2 separate regions of the Homo sapiens genome follow, and region 1 is linked to region 2. Evidence: promoter capture Hi-C in 16 types of primary human blood cells and fetal thymus (Javierre and others, 2016). All regions are on one chromosome and are shown on one strand. Each heading gives the region's core, a stretch centred on a gene start or on the middle of the fragment in contact. The rest is flanking DNA. Distances are from core to core; before and after follow the strand shown.

Region 1 (3,196 bases), core at 29-2,528, 3.1 Mb before region 2:
GACGGTGAGTGGTGGATGGGTGAGGTCTTACAATGCAAAACTGCTGATTTCTACATCCGAAAAAAATCATGAATATGAACGATTATAGCCAGATTGAAACTATCATTATTTTCGGTAAGAAAAAGTGCGTCTATTCACAGAAAGTCAGGTACTTTTCCCCAAAATCACATGGGAAAAGTGTGCAAATACAGAACAGCCCTTCCAGGAAGGAACTATTTTCTCCGAAACAGGAAATTGTTGTACATTCAGACACACCATAAATACACGTCTAGTTTGTACATGGCAATTCCAGGGTCTGAGGCTCTTCCTTCCTGGCCCTAGAATGGCGTCTCTTGCGCTGTGGGCTTCCTGTTGAGGCAGGGGCTGAGGAGGTGGGAAGCAGAGGCTGAGATTTTCCTTCACCACGGTCACAGAAGATGCGCTGTTCCAGGGGCCTGGGTGGGAGCAGCCCAGGAGCCTGCGTCTCCCCTCCTCGGCCCTGGGAGGCGGCTGGACTGTGCCACACGGGACGGGTGCTGAGGGACCGCTGGGTGCCCACCTCCCTGACCCCTCCTGCAGGGGTGCCTGCCAAGCAGCCTGGGCACTGCCGTCTGGAAGATGCGCCGTGCCGGTTCTACACGGTGTTCCCTTGCTCCAGGCAGAAAGGTCAGTCCAGGCTTCTCACTCCATCGTGGCCAGAAGCCAAGTCTCATGGCATGAGATTCAACCAAAGAGAATCTCCTGGAGCTTCTTTACCTCATCAGACTTATATCCCACACAACACACACACACCCCCATCCATAAATGTGTGTATGTATATACCACACACGTACACACACATATGCCACACACATGCACACCACACACACAGAATGAATACACATACACCACACACATAAACACACACGTGTGTATGTATATATCACACACTTAAACACACGCATGCCACACACGTGCACACCACACACACAAAATGAATACACAGACACCACACACACAAACACAGAGATATCACACACATACATACACACACCATGCAACACACAAACATGCATACACATATTCCACACACAGAAACACACAGACACCACACATATACACACAGACATGCATACACACAACACACATATAAACACACAAATGCCACACACCAACACATGCCACACACAAACATGCACACACATACACCACACACATAAACACACAATACCACACACATACACAGACACTAACACACACTACACAAACATGCACACACATACACTACACACAAAAATACACAGATACCACACACATACACAGACACTAACACACACTACACAAACATGCATACACATACACCACAGATGTAAACACACAGATACATACATACACACACACCAACACCCACACTACACACATAAACACATGCATCATATGTAACACACATTACACAGACTTATATCCCACACAACACACACATACCCACATTCAACACACACACTTGCTCACACCCCTTCCCACACAATCCAACACACACACCCCCACATTCAACACACACGCATGCTCACACCCCTTCCCACACAACCCAACACACACACACCCACATTCAACACACACACTTGCTCACACCCTTTCCCACACAACCCAACACACACACACCCACATTCAACACACACATATGCTCACACCCCTTCCCACACAACCCAACACACACACACACACGCCTCCACGTACATCTTTTTATGGTAGTTATTTTTTTGTAAGTAAAATATTTGTATAATATCAGCTTATTGTTTGCCATAGCATAACTTATTTCAAACTTGTCCAACCTGCAGCCCATGTGGCCTGGGGTGGCTTTGAATGCAGCCCAACCCAAATTTGTAAACCTTTTAAAAACATTGAGATTTCTCAGCTATGATTTTCTTTAGCTCATCAGCTATTGCTAGTGTGGTGTATTTTATGTGTGGCCCAAGACAATAATTCTTCTTCCAATGTGGCCCAGGGAAGCCAAAAGACTGGACGCCCCTGAATTATGTGGTTCTCATCCTAGGTGATTTTGCCCCTGGAGGTAGGTGGAAAGTCTGGAAACATTTTTGGCGATCGCAGCTGGAGGGGGCTCTTGGCATCTACGGGTGGAGCCAGGGTTTAGGGTGTGTGCAGCACCAAAGGCTCGATGCCTCCCCAACACCAAAGAACCCTCTGAGCCCGTAGTGCGGAGACCAGAAACCCGATTTCAATTTCCTAGTAAAAGAAAACGGAAATGAAAACGACAAAACGGTCCTGTGTCTTCTCTCTTCTCGGTGCAGCTATCTGGATGGGGCGACTTGGAATTCCGAGTCTAGGCCTTGCACTGATTTTCCCCCCTGACATCTGGGAAGCCATTTCACTGTTTAAAACCAAAGATGCTGAGTGGCAGCTGCCACCAATTGGAAGGGGACAGGAGAAAGGGATTTTTATGAAGAGCCTGTGTGCCTTGGATGCTGCAGGTGGAGACCTCTGCAGTTTGTCCAGCAACTGCCTGCCAGAGATGGGCCAGAGAAGGGCCAAGCAGCTCCCTCCTATCGGAGGTCCACAGGTGGACCCCCACCCCCAGTCTCCATCCCCGGTCCACGCCCCAGTCCCTGCTGGTGGGGAAGCTGGGGAGCAGGCCATGCGTGTAATTCCAGAAGCTATTGCATGGCAAAGGCTACGTGCCCTCAAAGCCCGGGCACCTCCCTGGCCCCACAACTGCTTCACACAATACTTGTGTTTCTGTACGTTCTATGTGAAGTTTCAGGAAAGAATCTGTAAGTGATGTCTAAAGCAAGTTTCTGAATATTTATGCTGTAATACACGGCCATGAGCATGCTGGCTACTCATTTCTAATCCTATGACAAATGCACAAGGGCAGGTACTGGGAGAGTGAACTGTTTCCCTGGCCAGGGACCCAAGCACCACTTGGGGCATCAGAAGGAAGCCCTCTGGTTTTGGCCAAGGAGAAGCTTGCACTGTTTTACTAGAAACGTCCTATGTGAATCCATCCTCTGTGATTCCACGACTTTGTATGACTTGCTTGGTGCTTCCAAGGACGTAGGAACTGAAGGGTGGGGCATGTTCTGTGCACTTTTGTCATGGGAAAGCTGGCTTTTGGGAAACCCCCTGGCCCCACAGTTGCTCCCAGAAGCCATACTGGGGGAAGGGCCTGGGGAATGTTCCCAGAGGGTCATGTTGCCTTGATTCATCCTGATGGGGATTT
Region 2 (3,218 bases), core at 454-2,953:
GCAACTGTGATGCCTGTGACTTACGACTTTTCTTCAGAAACAACTGAATGGTAAATTCACATCTTTGCAAATGCCACTAAGAATTTGGAACCATACACCAGCCCTCATACTAAATCCTACTACTTTTTCAAAAAACAACAAACAAAACTCAAGCTGCTGATTTAATTCAGAGCATTTTTGAACGGAGAGCATTTGAAAGAAGAAAATGGAAATTCTCTCTGGGGAATCTCACTTTTATCTCAGCCCTGAAGAATGTCCCCACACAAAGCTATACAAAAGGAGTAGTTCACAGTCAAAAAATAAGTAAACCTACAAGGAAACAGAGAATCAGGAGAGAAAAGCAGCTGAGATCACAGAAAGCAGACACAGGCTGCAATAATGGGATTACAGACACAAACCGTGGGAGGGCAATAGTTTAATTAAAGGCAAGCTTGAAAATGCACGCAGGACCAAGTGATGGACACAGAGTGAGAGGGGTCACCCTGAGCGATTTCAAATGGGAACTGCCCAACCCGCCCCATTCCCAGGCCCTGCCCCCCACGCCCCTCCCCCCCACGCCCCTCCCCCCTCCCCCTCCCCTACACTCCTCCCCACGCCCCCCACGCCCCTCTCCACACCCCTCCCCCATGCCCCTCTCCACACCCCTCCCCCACGCCCCTCTCCACACCCCTCCCCCACGCCCCCCACGCCCCTCTCCACACCCCTCCCCCATGCCCTCCTCCACACCCGTTTCTGCCCCATGCCCCTCCCCCACGCCCCTCCCCCCTCCCCCTCCCCTACACTCCTCCCCACGCCCCCCACGCCCCTCTCCACACCCCTCCCCCATGCCCCTCTCCACACCCCTCCCCCACGCCCCTCTCCACACCCCTCCCCCACGCCCCCCACGCCCCTCTCCACACCCCTCCCCCACGCCCTCCTCCACACCCCTGTTTCTGCCCCACGCCCCTCCCCCACGCCCTCCTGGCCGTCTCTGGGGCGGTCCTGAATCGCTGCCGGCCAGGGCCCGCCCTGCCCCATAGGAAGGGACCCTGGGGGCGGGGCTGCCTCGGCTTCGCCCCCAGGAAACCACGTGGCCTGGGGCGGCCCGACGCCGGCTGCGCTGGATCCACGCCGAAAGATGGGCGCCCGAGCCGGGAGGGAAGCCTGGGGAGGACACCTGGGGGGCACGGCCCTGACCACGCTCAGACCCAAGAGGGCGGGGAGGGGCGCAGGGCGCGTGGGGGGCGCGGGCGCACTTACTCGAGCTCCTTGAAGCGCTCGCGGCCCGCCGCCACGTACTTGCCGCCCGCCTGCAGCGCGTCCAGCCCCAGCACCCGGTGCCCACGCGTGGGCGTGAAGAGGCGGCGCACGCCGAACGGGACGTCCACCTGCTCCGTGAGCTGCTCCAGCAGCGCCTCGAAGGTGGCCGCGCGGCGCCGCGACAGCACGAACTTCTTGCCCACGTAGAACGGGTCCCCGTTGCGGTACACCACGATGGTCTTGGCGGGCGTGGTGTCCACCGGCGCGGAGGGCCCGCGGGTTCCCATAGCCGCGCCCCGCTCCTCGCTCGCCGGGGCCGAGAGGCTGCGGCAGCGCGGGCAGCGACGCCTGCAGAGCCGCGCCCAGGCCCGGGCACCGCCGACGGGAGGTCCGCTCCAGCCGCTGGCGCAGGACGGGGACGGGACGGGGACGGGACGGGGGCTGGACGGGGACGGGACGGGGCTGCCAGGCGGGCGGAGGCTGCGTGTTGACGCGACCCTGGGCGATTGTGACCGCCTGGCCGCCAGGGCGAGGGGCTCGGGGCCGGGGCAGGAGACGGGGCGACGGGGAACCCGGGCAGGTGAGCAGGCGGCACGGGGCAGGGACAGGTGATTGGGTAATGGGGAGCCCAAGCAGGTGAGGCGCGGCACAGGGCGGAGACAGGTGAGGGGGCAACGGGGAGCCCGGGCAGGTGAGGGGCGTGGCGGCAGAGCTCAGGAAAAGAGGAGGAGGAGGCGGCTAGCATGATTGTGCTGAGCGCCCCGGGACGCCCACCGTGCCTCCTCCCCCTACACTCGCCGCCTTCCTCTGTAGAAGCGGTAGAGAGGAGGGTTAGGGAGGGACCAGGACCATCTTGACAATCAACATTGGATGGGTGCTGGGATCTGCTTCACATTTTTTGAGCCTCTGTTTCTTTGATCTTAGGTTGAATTTGACCGGTTCAGCCCCAGTGTCTTCCAGGACTCCTGGCCCAGAGTGGGGAATTTGAGCTTTTCCACCAGAGGAGGAGGTGTGCAGAGCCACTGGGAGGCCGTGAGGAACCGCGCTATAGCCGCTGGTGTGCGGTGTCAGGCGCGTGCCATTCAGAACGCATCCTCATTGGGGAATGATTCAAAGGGAGAGGGGGTCTTTGGAAGAATCGTTCCTACTCTGGGTAAAGATAGGCCAGTCCCCTTGAGTGATTCTAGACAGTCAGTAGGCTACATGTTACGGCTGGAAGTCCACACCGAAGGTACAGATATTGATATTATGAGTATTAATATCTTATAATGTTCAAAAAAAGTAGTTCCGTAGAGACCACCAGTCACAGCCATAGCCAGTATGTAAGCTACTAAATGCCTCATAGCAACATTAAATACAGAGATCAATTTGTGAGACGACCACTTTATTAAATCACCAGGTGTTCAAAACATTTGAAAAGAAGACTATGACTGGGAAATTACTGCTGTGTGTCCGACACCGGGGCTTTGTGTGTGTTAAGGGTTTGCTTTGAAGCTCACCGAGAACTTCAACATGGGCTTCTCCCGGGGCCTCAGGAGGCAGATGGAGCTGGGGAAGCCCCGGAGCCGAAGGCGGCTCACTCCCCCGTCGGGGACGATGGTGAGCCTGGCGTGAGTGATGACATCTTGGAGCTCTAGGGTCAGGCTATCGAACAGATGACTTTGGTTGGGAGACAACTGAAAAGCAAGCAGATGCAGAGGTCCTAGTCTGTTAACAGGACATGTGTGGCCGAATGAGCCCACGGCCCGGGCAAACCTTTGGCTTAGACTTAACCGAAGGGGCTTTAAAATAAGTTATTAATTGATGATAATTGGGCTTTCCATGAAAATCTGCTAGTAGGGATAGGATGCCCAAATAATACATGAATAAGCAGGCCCCAATAAACAATTGATGGGCAACCTAAATGCCCATCAGTTGTTTCTAATAGTTGATTATACATAAGCAAATTGATAAGAAAATGAAGGAAGAGACCATCTTGG

The links. The method cuts DNA at HindIII sites, captures the fragments that hold promoters and counts their contacts. A CHiCAGO score of 5 or more calls a contact.
Region 1: a fragment that was not itself captured here is called in contact with the fragment with the promoter of DCDC2C in region 2 in 1 of 17 cell types (endothelial precursors); the score reaches 5.3 in endothelial precursors.

What each region holds. Positions count from the first base shown.
Region 1 is chr2:6,767,528-6,770,723 of GRCh38, reverse strand. It overlaps LINC00487 (long intergenic non-protein coding RNA 487), which reads left to right and starts at 413. Exons shown (of 6, transcript NR_038369.1): 1 at 413-645. The HindIII fragment of the contact is 3,332 bases long and covers 1-2,944 here.
Region 2 is chr2:3,702,060-3,705,277 of GRCh38, reverse strand. DCDC2C (doublecortin domain containing 2C) reads right to left here and starts at 1,703. Exons shown (of 11, transcript NM_001287444.2): 1 at 1,240-1,703. The coding sequence starts at 1,526. ALLC (allantoicase) reads right to left here. Exons shown (of 12, transcript NM_018436.4): 12 at 2,607-2,915. The coding sequence ends at 2,715. LOC105373393 (a long non-coding RNA gene) reads left to right here and starts at 1,778. Exons shown (of 3, transcript XR_922732.1): 1 at 1,778-1,819; 2 at 2,164-2,470; 3 at 2,639-2,718. The HindIII fragment of the contact is 3,644 bases long and covers 433-3,218 here.